Linked DNA regions of Homo sapiens: all the other regions are linked to region 1. Evidence: promoter capture Hi-C in 16 types of primary human blood cells and fetal thymus (Javierre and others, 2016). All regions are on one chromosome and are shown on one strand. Each heading gives the region's core, a stretch centred on a gene start or on the middle of the fragment in contact. The rest is flanking DNA. Distances are from core to core; before and after follow the strand shown.

Region 1 (3,096 bases), core at 319-2,818:
GTCATATGACCAATTTAAAAGTTGGTATGATGTGTCTAAAATAACAAATTAACTCTTTTACTTATAATAAAGGTACAGATGTGCTGATTAGTCATGCTAACATGTACATATGAAATATGCCTAAACCAAATTAAAAGAAAACAAAATACAGTCTATGGCAATCTTGAAAATTCAGGGAGCTCAATAAATATTAAGAGGATGCTCTCACAATGAGAGCATTAAACACTTGGTAATTAACATAATTTAATATGCAAAAATAAGAAAATATACAGGATGAGGGATGAGGAGTACACATAGGAAATTTTTGTGATTTTCTTCATTTTGATTGTATTGCTTTCTTGTCTTCAGGAGGGAAGATTTTGACTTCAAAAGTAACAAAATATTTAAGAAGGGAATTCACATCTTTCTGTTCTAAATGATATTCTTGCGCTATTTTCTCAGCAGTTCATGTTTCTGGATAAAGTTTATGATTATTGAAAAGTGTCAATGCTTCTACAGTGGAAATTTTGCCTTTGGGAATGCTCTTAATATTTATCATATCAAAGTGATGGCCTTTCGGCAATCTGAATTTCTTTGGCTCCTGACGTGTTTCAGCAGCTTTCAGCTGCACGGAAGACACAGGATCTTTGGAATCAACACACACATATTTTAGAAATGACAGCAGCTTGTCATCTTTACGAGCAATCTCTCCCTTAATTTCTGGATAGAGACTAATCTGCTCTGGCAGGAGGCTGCTGGTAGAGGGGTGCCTGGGAGCGAGAGAGGGCTTCATGTTGCGGATTTCCCTTTCCGCTCGGTTCTCTTGAAATTCCTGATCCCGCGAGTCACCGCAGCCCCCATCTCCTTACAACATGATGCCCTCAGGTTCACAGTAATGTATTTTTTAAAAACCAGTCGTTGTTACCTTAATTTGGTCCCAAGGGCTGTAAAGGTCAGTTTACAACTCGTTGAACAACTGAGTAAGATTTAAGGCAACTCAACTGATAGCTGCATACCTAATTTAGGATATCCATAGAATTGTTTTGTCAACTACAAATATAACAAGCATTAAGTGTAAACTGTGTTGCTGAAAAGTACTCCAAGTATCTTAGGAACACCCACCGCAATGTGTGGGCTAAATGCACACGTACAATGATAGCAGAAATAATACCTGTCATATAGGACGGGCATGTCAGCCTTTTCTCCGCGAAAGGCTTCTGGTCCTAAGCTGTCCCTTACTTTCACCGGAATGAGATGCGTCCAGAGTCCCAAGCAAGGGAGGAGACTGCTCCTTTACCCAGGAGGCTGGAAACTGCTCGATGCGAGCGCAGTTTCCGACGCCCTTCGGCTGAGACCTGCAGCACCGGACGATGTCCCAGTTGCCAGCTTTAGTTGCTAAGGCACCAACCACTTCGGAGGAAACGGGGGGTGGTGCAGTCTCTTTTGGAGTCGTAGCGAATCAGCTACAAGTCGAGATAATTAGTTCCGGCAGGAAACAGCTCCTCTAAGAGGGACTGGAAGGCGGAAAGAAGCTGAGAGTGACGCCTCTGAGCCGCGGAGGATTGTGGGAGGAGGTTGTCTCCAATTTCTCCTCCCCCTCCCGGCCAAGATGTCTGACATGGAGGATGATTTCATGTGCGATGATGAGGAGGACTACGACCTGGTGAGGCGCAGGGAATGGAACTCTGAGGGTGGTGATGTGTCTTGTTTTCGGGGTCCGGGCCGGGGCGCCCGCGGCCTCTCCCCGTAGAGCATGTGCCGTTTACAGCCTCTCTCAGTGCGGTGACAGGACTGGTTTACCTCCTCCCCGTTCCCGCACCGGGCCCGGGCCCTGCTTCTCCAGCATGGGGGAAGGGAGGGCAAAGGAGGCAGCGAAGGGGGCCCCGGGCCTTGCCCTCCGAGTCTGAGCGCCTCTTCGGTTTACACGGATGCCCCTGGTCCCAGGCGTTCGGTTCTCTGTCTTCTGCCTCCCCACCGCGCTAGCCGCCTCGGTGACCATGCTGCGGTGTAGGCCCTGGCTTTGCCCTTTCGGGCCCAGCGTTCCGGGCCCCCACTTCTTCACACTGGAACTGAGCGGGTGCGAAATGCTAGGAGAAGTCAGAAAACGGGGGTGTCCTTACTGCTCCCAGGCCTGACTGCGAAACGCAACTTGTGAGTCTCCTGGAGACATAGCTTAAATAGTCTTGCCAGGGCCAGTTTTGGTCCGAGGTAAGTGTGTAGGGGAGAGTTCAGAGCAAAGATAACTGAAAAAAAGGTAGTCGAACCACTTTTTCAGTTCTTTATAAAGAAAAGCTGGGGAGGAGGTTTTGCTTGTGGTGTTTTTGGAGGACGGGTGAAAGATAATTGAACCCATGGCTTTTCCCTTAGAAATTTCCCAGTATACAAAGTTTAAAACAGCAACAGCATAGAAATAAACGAATTTTTCTGACCGAATGGAGATTTTTAAAGATTCAAAGCTTCATTTATTAATGGATTTGCAAGTTTGAATAACGTTTGCTATTCAAAAACATCGTGTGGAAACTCAGAAAATTATCTTGATCCAGAATTAACGTCAATTTTGCTGTGTTTCTTTATTTTGGGGGTGTTTCATATGGTTCTTTTATGGTGATGCTGCATTATCATAAAGTTACGAAATAGATGTTTTGGGACGTCTGACTCATTTTAAGTGCCAGAGATTGTCAAAATATTAATACATTGTTTTGAATTAGTCTATAACTTTTTCGTATATATTTTCAGTTTTTTGCATTTTAAAATAAGGCACACTTTGCAAAAGGGAGAAAGGAAATTCTCGCTATTATTTGAAAGTCATAGTAGAGATTTTTATAATTTTTAAAGTTAAATGTAGTTTCGCTAATAGTTATGGTTTCTACCTTACATTTTAGTTTGTGCAAGCCAGTTGTAGGCAGTGACTTCAGTTCATTAAGAATATGTATCTGTCCATTTTTACTTATTACCTGTTTATTTATATTACAGGTGTTTTGTTATCAAAATGTTTCTTTTATATGTGCTTGTATTTTTTTAATTGATTCATAGTATTTTGTACATATTTATGGGGGGTTTCGTTACATGCACAGGATATGTAGTGATCAAGTCGGTATTTAGGATATCCATCACCTT
Region 2 (3,096 bases), core at 207-2,706, 970 kb before region 1:
CTCACACACTCCAAAGGGTAAGTAGGGAAAAATAATCCCCAATAAACCTTCCACTGATCAATTTACCAACCACAGTCTTTTCCAGTTCAAATAAGCTTTTGATTATTTAGTCTTTTTTAGGGCCTTTGGGTGTCCCTCTCCTCTCCTGCTTCTCTCCAGAATGGCATCACAGAGAACCTGTGTGACTCTGTGACAGTAGAGGGAAGTGGGAGCCTTGGATCCATGCCAGGTCCTCTGGATTCTCTTTGCACAAGCAGATCTTGTCATTTTGGCCCAGGCCTTGCCCTTCATCAGCCACAAGGAGGCAGGAACATAGCCTCAAGCATCTGCAGCCACCTTTCTCCTCCAGTGTTCCATACTGCTCCCAGCTTTGCTGGATCTGATGCTCTGATGGAGAAGGGCACCCTTCAGACCCAAAGGAAATGGGTGCTTAGCCTAGATTTTCCATGTGACTCCAACTCTCTGGATGTTTCTAAAGCCAGCTCCCTCTTGAAGTTTAGCTCTGAAGCTAGGAAAACCCAGGACTCTGGTGTCTGTCTCCATGATTCCCCTTCTTTCGCTGGTCTCTGGCATGACTTAACTCCATAAGTGTTCCTCCTGCTTTTCTGGGGTGATATTAATTCCTTCTTTCCTTGACAGACTGGATACAAAACGAAACACTGGCTTACTCAAAAGAGAAGCTCTGAAGGTAGCACCTTCCTTACCCTGAAATGCACAGAAACATGGGGTTGCACAAGAAGTAGCTCCATCATCTGCTCATCTGCTGTAGCTCCTGGGCCTTGAGACTGGGGCACACTCTACCTAAAGATGGCTCAGCATTGGTGGGGATGTGTGCAGAACCACAGTGAGGCACACCTTGGTATTGTTCATCTGAAATTAATATTTCTTCAAAGACAGACCTTACTGGTGTTTGTTCCTCTCCCTATGTATAATGGGATATCTCTAGAGGACAGGATGGTCCTAGAGCTGCCTTGAACAGTTTTATCTCCCTCCTGCCATCCGATGCTTTAACCTCCTGCTCCAGTGCAGTCTTCTAGTTCTGTAGGATCAATTTCTTTGCAATCGGTATTATAGCACAAGCTGCAGCAGTTTATTTATCTAAGAGAGAATGCGTCTAGGTTGCTATCCTCAGAGATAGTGTGTATAAGGCAACATTTGAGGCCTCCATGACTCAATTCTTGCCTAATCTTTGCCTGGTCTCTGATCCATTAGGACCTAGAAATTACATTGACTGATATACTGAGATGATGGCAAACTCACCTTTGCTCTCCACATTCACGATTGCTGTGGGATGTATGTTTGTGACTCACTCAAGCCATTTAGAATGGAAGCCCAAGTCACAGTAGAGGAAGGCCATTGTTACTGAACTGAACATGGGTCAGTTAATCTGCCTGCCCATGCAGCAAAGCCAAATACTAACACTGGGATTGATTTGCAGTGAGGAAAAGTGAAGCATTTATTGCAGGGTGCTATGCAAGGAGAATTGGGCAGCTAATCTTAAAACCCAAACCCCTTGATGGCTTCCATGTAAGAGTTTTTAAAGGCAGGGAGGCAGAGGTTCCAGGCAGAGCCATAAATCAATACATGGAGGCTATTGGTTTGACCTAAAAAGGGGGAGACATCTTGAAGTGGGGGTCCACAGGTTACAGGTAGATTCAAAGATTTCCCGATCTGCGATTGGTTAAGATTTGTTTAAAAACTTGGGGTCAGCAGAAAGGAATGTTGAACTCTGGCCTGTAGGTATAACTTCTGCCAGGCCCCTCAGGAAGAAATTTAGAATGAAGAACAGTGGTCAGATTTCAGTCTCCAGTTCCCCCTTCCCCAAGGTCTGTTGTGCCAGTGGATGGTGTTTTCCATTTGGTGGCGGGGGGGTGTGGGGGCTGTGGGCAGGTTTCTGCAAAACAGCTCAGGGACATATGTTAAGATGTTATTTTTAGTTTCTATTGGGACTCTAACTTCTTTGGCTATTGTTTCAAGCTATTATTACCTCCTTGCTTATCAGATTGCCTGCCACCCTCCACCAAGCATGGAAATAAAGGAAAATCTTGCGTTTCTTCAATGGAAATTCCAGGCACCTAGCTAGTCCTGAGAATTAAATGAGCAACTTGATAAGTAAGAGAGTAATAGTAGCTTAAAATAATAGCTAAAGAAGTTATAGTCATAAGATGTTTGGTTCTCTACAGAAGCTAAAGATAACATCTTGACATATGACCCTGAGTTTACTTTTCAGAAACTCGGACCTCCACCAAATGGAAATCTTTCTTGCACAAGGTCCAGGAACCTTCTCTTGGGATCTGGATTGGGATCCCTTTCCAGTAACAATATCAGGTCATCGGGACATTTCCTGGGTCTGTTCAGTAAACATTATTAACCTGTTCCCTTAACTGAAACTGTGTCTAAGAATGACTAATCTTCTGGGAATGTAAGATGGAGTTGCTCTGGTTCAAAGGCCTTGGACGCCTCTGACAGTATTAGTGAAGTGTTTTTTTTTTTTTTTTGGACTGTTAGCTTGTTAGGAACTAACAAGACCCTCCCTAACTCATCTACTCATCTTTCAGGACTCAGCTTCACTTGTTCTGAGGGTTTCCCGTGACACCTCCACACCCACACTGAAATATGGCTTCCCCTCTCCTGTAGTTCCGAAGCCTGTTTGGACAAGGGACACCTAAATTAGAGTTACTATCACATTGTGTCACAATTTGTTCACAACTATTTTCTCTTCCACTAGAAGGATTCTTGTTAGGGCAGATATCGACCTAAAAGAAAGAATCCCAGGCAAAATAGATATAACTAGAGGGTTTATTTGGGCCAAGCTTGAGGATTGCAACCTGGGAGCATAGATTCAGTTTTCTGCAGTTACAAGCTGTAGCAGCAGTTACAAGCAGGTTTTTAAAGAAAAGAAGAGGCAGTTTCTAAGTTGTTTACCAAGAATTTACATTAAAAATAACATAAGTTATTGATTGGCTATATGTTGTTTCTTTGTATTAAAATTCCAGGAACATGAAGATAATAGGTGAGGCAGGTAGTCAGGAACAAAATGCCTTTAAACAATTGCCCCCACAGATGGGTTTGGGGGTCACATGACTGAAATCTTAG
Region 3 (3,096 bases), core at 315-2,814, 900 kb before region 1:
TTAAAATGTTATATACGTCTAAACACCCTGGAGAAAAAAAAATTAGTGTGATTAAATTAATCTCAGAGGGAAATTTAATTTGTTCCCCTGATAATTATCCAAAATTAGTTCTTTGTAGATAAATTACTATTCCTAGGCCATTTACTAGCTCTAGAACTGTCTTTCAGACACTGGAACCCTAAATTAAGGCTGGAAGGTAGAAAAGAGAACAAAGTTTGTGATGCTGTCAGGCAGATTTGCTTTGTGGGGAGACAGAGGCCTGAAAGCTTTCCTGGCCACTATCTCTGTTCCTGGGGTCTAGATGGAAAATGAGCTCCCTAGACAAGCCCAGCAATGTTCTCCCTAGATTGAAAGGACTGGAAGTGACTGCTCCAGCTGATTGAATTAATGTGAGCTCTTCACTGTGCTTTAGTTTAGAGAGGTTCTGTTCTTCACCAGAGTGAAGGATGTCGGATGAGGGCCAGTGAGTCCATTAACCAAAAGGCAGTCTAGAGACTTCCTAGTTTCTGACTCGTTGCTCACGAAACACCATTTGGGAGAACACAGGATTGTACAATACTTGCTTTTATGGGCAACCCTCACAACTGTTCAAAGCCTCAGTTTCCTCATCTGTAAAATGGTGCTGAAATAGTCACAGCTCATTGGATTTTTTAAGGACTGCCTGAGATGATATAGTGTTCAGCATAGCGCCTGGAGATGGAAGGAGGCAATACCATTATCTGGTGTCACTGTATGACCCAGAGAATCTATGACATAGAAAGTTATATGTTCTCCATTATGTGCCCAAGTCTTAGTGACATGAGATCTAAAAGGAGGAGGCACAGATGAGCTCCTTTGTCCATAAGTGTTTAGTCCACAGTTTTCAAAGTTTATGAGCATGTTCCTCACTTGTAAAAGAAAATTAAATCTGACCGAATGTGGTGGCTCATACCTGTAATCCCAGTTCTGTGAGAGGCCGAGGTGGGAGGATCACCTGAGGCCAGGAGTTCGAGATCAGCCTGGGCAACATAGCGAGACTCTGTCTCAATAAAAAATAAAAAAATAAAAAGAAATTAATCTATATGTGTGTATACATATAGACAATGCATAGATTGTCTTTACTGTTAATATTTATATGTGTGTATACACATATATGCATGTGTGTACTATATGTTTTTACTATAGATAATATAGATATTATATTGTCTTTGCTATAGGTGTGTGTGTGTGTGTGTGTGTATATATATATATATACACATATACATATACATATATTGTGTATAGTAATTAAATGTTAGTAACTTTAACATTTTTAGTTAAAATATACATGAAGTTCTTTTTTATTTCTCATAGCCCAAAGGATTCTTTTGGGCACCCAGGAAACGAGCACCCCTAGGGGACACGTATTCCCACTGGTCTCACCAAGTAGGGTAATCTTGATACTGCATTAACCTGGAAAATCAAGCAAGAAGGCTTCCTGAGGGAGTCTTGGCAGGCAAGGTGCTCTTGCTCTATTGTTCATTGTTTTTGTCATAGTATTTGATGATCACCTCCTGAAATTGTGTCATCAGTTTACAAGTTTATTGTCTGCTTGTTCCTGCCTCTCTCTCCACAACTAACATACAAACTTACTCGATGATGGGAGGGTCTTTGCTTACTCATGTCTGTAGCCCTGGCTCAATAACATTATTGCCTGAAGCACAGAAGGACTTTAACAAAAATTAGTTGAATGAATGAATGAATGAATGTTGGGGGATATGTGCCCTCTGCTCTTTGCCTCCTCATACACGTTTTCTGCTCAAGTCTGGGAGCTGAGGCTCAGGAGAACGTTAAGATGATGGTGGTGGTGGTGGTGGTGATGATGAGTGTAGTCAGTATTGATTGACACACTCTGCAAAGCCTCTTCTGTGATTGAGGCTTCCTCAGCAGCGTTCGTAGAAGAGCACTGTCGTCTTTCCATTGCCCCTATCCTGGAAAGCTGTGGACTCTGCACCAGGCAACAGTCAGCTGATACTGAGGAACTACCAGGGGTTCTTCCTGGTATCAGTGAGGTACCAGATGTCTAATCTCCAGGTCCCATACATGCATTCTTTTGGGTTCTTTGCATGAACATGGGTAATTCACATATTTTCTGAGCGGTACAAATGCCTTTTGGCTACTTCCTCTTTTATGCCAGTAGTTTGTGGACACAATCCCTTTTTGTTTTTTATTTTATGGCTTAGAGATAATCTCTCCCTTATTAGTCAGGATTATTTCTGTCTCTGGAATCTGGATTGTACCATAAAAATACTGTATTTGCCTCCTTTTGTGGCAAGAAGGGCTAGATGTTTTCCCCCTCAAGCTCTGGAAGGTTACTTTTTATAGTTGTCATGATGTACAAATGTTTCATCAAATGTGGGATGATGATTTGATAGTGAGGAAACTGTGGTACTGATTGCAAAAGCTCCTGGGGCTTGTGGGATTCATAGACGTAGGCAGTGTCTCTGGACAACTGCTGAGCTCATTTGGGTTTAAGCCTTCTGGGATGCATTCTTTAAGACAAACATAGAGATACAAGTAAGCTATTATTTAAAAAGCAAACTGATCTTGCATATATTATGAATGTTCTTACCTGGTGTTTGGTTGGTTGAGAGTAAAAGAAAAACCAACTCAAATTGACTTAGTTTGAGTTGAATGGACAGATCATGTAGCTGAAAAGTCCAGAGATAGGGCTAGTCTCAGGAGAGGCTTGGTCTAGTTTCTTTCTCTGCATTTCTTGGCCCTGCATTTTTAGTGCGGAGTTTGTTCTTGGCAGCCTCCCCACTCATAGCCCCAAGTTGCTGTTAGTAATCTCTAGGGCTACTTGTTTCCAGATTGGAATGCAATAGAAAAGAGAAAGCTTACATTATCAGCAAATTTCAGAATTGACGTAGTTTATGTGCCAGTGTCTGAATTCAAAATTGTAATTAGGAGGGTGGGCCATGTACTTGCCTTAAGCTAATTTGACCCTGGAATTATGGATGGGAGATGAATCTATCCAGTTCGTGAAACTAAGGAATTTGGCACATTGTTTAGCTGATGGGGAGAGGAAATAGTCAAAGGAATATTACATGTGTCGTTAACAGGACTGAATTTAAA
Region 4 (3,096 bases), core at 284-2,783, 850 kb before region 1:
GTAAGGGCAGGTTATGTAGTATCCTTACTGCTCTCACTTTACAGATGAGAAAACAGAGGCACAGTGCCGTCAAACAGCTCGCCAATGGGACATTCAGGAGTTAAGTCTATGCAATGTAGCTCAAGTGCCTCCACTTCTAACCACTACCATTTGCTGTTCCTTACTCCATTGGAACAGTCATCCTCATTGACTTGAGTCTGGGCTACCAGAGTTAGGGGCTCTTGGCTTGGATGCTGGAAGCCAAGTGATCAGAAAATATGTTGTGCCCAGTGCAGATGCATAACTTCTAGCTGTTCGAACTTAGAATTTGCAACCTGATTTATGTCAGTTTATCAGTAAATTTTAAGCAAGGAAAAAAGCTCACCGGAGATTGCCAATTAGCTGGCATATTCAGAAGTTACTTACCTTTTATTTATTTTTATTTATTTATTTTTTTTATGTTCTGCATTTGTATGTACATTTTAAAATTCAAGAATACTTGTGGGCTGAATTGCCAGAATTCCTAGTTTTTTGGAAGGACCAGGAAAAATGCAGAGTATAATTCAGATACCACAAGGAGTCTGACTTGCATTAGAAGAACCAAATAAATTTTGTTAGAAAAACATACTGCAGAGTTCCTGATACCACCGGAACTCGGACCGTGGGAGCCAGGTGTACCTTTCTCCTTCACTGGACAGCAGTACTCTTGTGTTGTTTCACTTTTCTTAGCTGATGGTAGAAATAAAATCCTTACTTGGCATGAGCATATTTGAACATTACTAGAATTGAGTTGTTTAGCTTGTTTGAAAAGTCCTTCCTTTCCCTTCACAAAAAGGCATTCATAGAATTGTTGTTTTAAAACCAAGGCATTCTTCTGATAGAGGAATTGACAATTTTATTCTTCGGAAATGATAGGGCTAGAATGATTAATTTGACCTAAACTCCAGGCGTGACTGGGGTGGGCTTTTGCTCTTTCTTGACTCATCAGGGAATTTCATCTGTTCTTTTTCAACACCTATCTTGGACACACTTCCAGAGAGGCCTTTTTTTTTTTTTTTTTTTTTGGTGGTCTCATTGCCCTCATTGCTCTTTTAAGTTTTATAACTTCACGTCAGAGTTGCTTGTTGTTCCAACCTATTTGCTGTAAGTAAACCATCTCTATCTTTCTATCTCTTTCTGTCTCTCTCTCTGATATATATCTATTTGTCATATTTATATGACAGTAGAAAGTGGGGGTAAAATATTCAGGCAAGGATTTTTTTTTTTTTTGACTAGAGGAACAGCCTGCCTGTTAATAAATTTTATGATGTCCATTATTATTCTCAGCCTTCCTTCTCTTCTTTGTCACCATCTTTTTCTTATTCTTCTCAAATCACTGTAATTAGAAAAACAATGATGTATCCCGTACATATTAGTAATCAATATGCATTTATTGGACCTGAAATTTAAATTTTAAATACAAACGTTACCTATTACCATATAAACTTCATTTTTAGGATCTCATTCTCATTTTTTGACTCAATGCATGAGGTATTTGGTTTATTTTTATTTTTAGATTAAAATAAAAGATAATGTTGTAGATGATAGAGAAGATGAAGAACTCTGTGTGAGAATGGCCTAAAAAATAAAAGGCGATCCAAAAGTGTTCAACTTAATTCTACAAATTTATCTTTCCATCAGGTCATGGAGCCACAATCCAAATATTCTTTCACCATTGTAGTTTTGATTTTTGAACACCAACAAAGCAAAACAAAACATAAAACAAAGTGAAATACTTTCTGTTTTTCGTAGTTGTGTTCCAGTGATTTAGTAGCCCACCAGAGGAAAAGAGCATACATTTTGGGATCAGAAGTTCTAAATTCTAATTCCAGCTCTGCAATTTAAGCTATGAGTGTCCATGAGGATTGTGTTAAGTCTCTTGGGCCCTTGGGTTCCTCAATGACTTTGGAAGGGCCATGGGCTTTACATGAGTTAATTTAGTTCTTCTGGTGGGTGTGGTAGAGTCTATTCCTCCCTCACTCCTGGGCCAGATATGACCTCCTGGGTTCCTCATCCATACAATGGGAATAATACTACTCACTCACAGGGTTGTGAAGAGAGTAAAACGACACAATTATGAGAGAGGGTTTTATAAATCCTTAAAGAATTGTACAGCTTTAGGGTGTTATCATTGCTTTACATTTTACTTTATTCTTTAACTCAACAAATATTTATTATGCCTAATAACCCTATGAGGACAATGTCTTTGGCTCTGAGGACCCAAATATGTTCAGTGCATTCTTTTCAGATTCCTTCTGATGGGAATATTTGTTTTCTGTTGCCCATGGAAGTTGGGGAAGGGGCGTTGTGTTGGAAAACACTGGTTCCTTCATGAAGAACATAGCAGAGCCTCTCCTGGCAGAGCAAGGAGAAAAGGCATGAATAATTCACAAAAGAAAGTAAATATGGGGCATATGATAGGTGGTTCTGATCAGAATTAATGATATCCTGGCCCACTTGTGAGTTTGGATATTCACGCTTTTCCTTTCCTCTTCTTTACTCCTGCTAGTCATTCTGCCTTGGGGACTTCCTTTCACTGCATCTAGAATATTCCATGATGCCCTTCCTCAACTACCAACCCAACGTTGCACTCTCATTTGCACTCCTTTCATAGCACTTTGTTAATGAGGCTCTTAGAAACCTTATATTCTGCCTTTATTAAACTATACAAATCCTTGAAGCAAAGAGATTTTTACTCATTTTGGTATCCCTTGCAGTATATGCCTCATACTGTATGCCCAGATTCAAATCCTGGCTCCTACCCTTACTGTGTAACCTTGAGGAAGTTACAGAAGCCCTCTGGGCCTTACTTTGCTCATCTGTAAAGTGGAGATAACAATAAGACCTGCGTTACAGGATTTCTGTGAATGTTAAATAAAATAGCGCATGTGAAGCTCTTAGGATGGTGCTGGACACATAGTAAACCCTAACTAAATATCAGCTACGTTATTTGGAATCATAAACACCTACACCTGGAACACAAGTTTCTGGATCAACTAGGAATTGGGTCCCCGTAGGATTTACTGGATGAGTCAGCTTGAGGAGGCCTGTTGTGAGACTCAGAGTCCTGGGGAAAGT

Evidence for each region. The method cuts DNA at HindIII sites, captures the fragments that hold promoters and counts their contacts. A CHiCAGO score of 5 or more calls a contact.
Region 2: a fragment that was not itself captured here is called in contact with the fragment with the promoter of COPS2 in region 1 in 2 of 17 cell types (monocytes and M0 macrophages); the score reaches 5.7 in monocytes.
Region 3: a contact is called between a fragment that was not itself captured here and the fragment with the promoter of COPS2 in region 1, in 4 of 17 cell types (monocytes, M2 macrophages, M0 macrophages and 1 more). The highest score is 7.7, in monocytes.
Region 4: a contact is called between a fragment that was not itself captured here and the fragment with the promoter of COPS2 in region 1, in 1 of 17 cell types (neutrophils). The highest score is 5.1, in neutrophils.

The regions. Positions count from the first base shown.
Region 1 is chr15:49,154,071-49,157,166 of GRCh38, reverse strand. COPS2 (COP9 signalosome subunit 2) reads left to right here and starts at 1,568. Exons shown (of 13, transcript NM_004236.4): 1 at 1,568-1,642. The coding sequence starts at 1,589. It also overlaps a transcript of GALK2 not described here and the pseudogene NDUFAF4P1. RefSeq lists enhancers at 616-1,534, 1,293-1,822. The HindIII fragment of the contact is 2,527 bases long and covers 1-2,437 here.
Region 2 is chr15:50,125,643-50,128,738 of GRCh38, reverse strand. It overlaps a transcript of ATP8B4 not described here. Among named protein-coding and RNA genes, the nearest start is that of ATP8B4, 8.0 kb to the right of the region's middle. The HindIII fragment of the contact is 2,718 bases long and covers 98-2,815 here.
Region 3 is chr15:50,054,839-50,057,934 of GRCh38, reverse strand. The region is part of intron 3 of ATP8B4 (ATPase phospholipid transporting 8B4 (putative)); the gene reads left to right. Among named protein-coding and RNA genes, the nearest start is that of ATP8B4, 63 kb to the left of the region's middle. The HindIII fragment of the contact is 2,591 bases long and covers 269-2,859 here.
Region 4 is chr15:50,004,437-50,007,532 of GRCh38, reverse strand. The region is part of intron 7 of ATP8B4 (ATPase phospholipid transporting 8B4 (putative)); the gene reads left to right. Among named protein-coding and RNA genes, the nearest start is that of ATP8B4, 110 kb to the left of the region's middle. The HindIII fragment of the contact is 5,134 bases long and covers 1-3,096 here.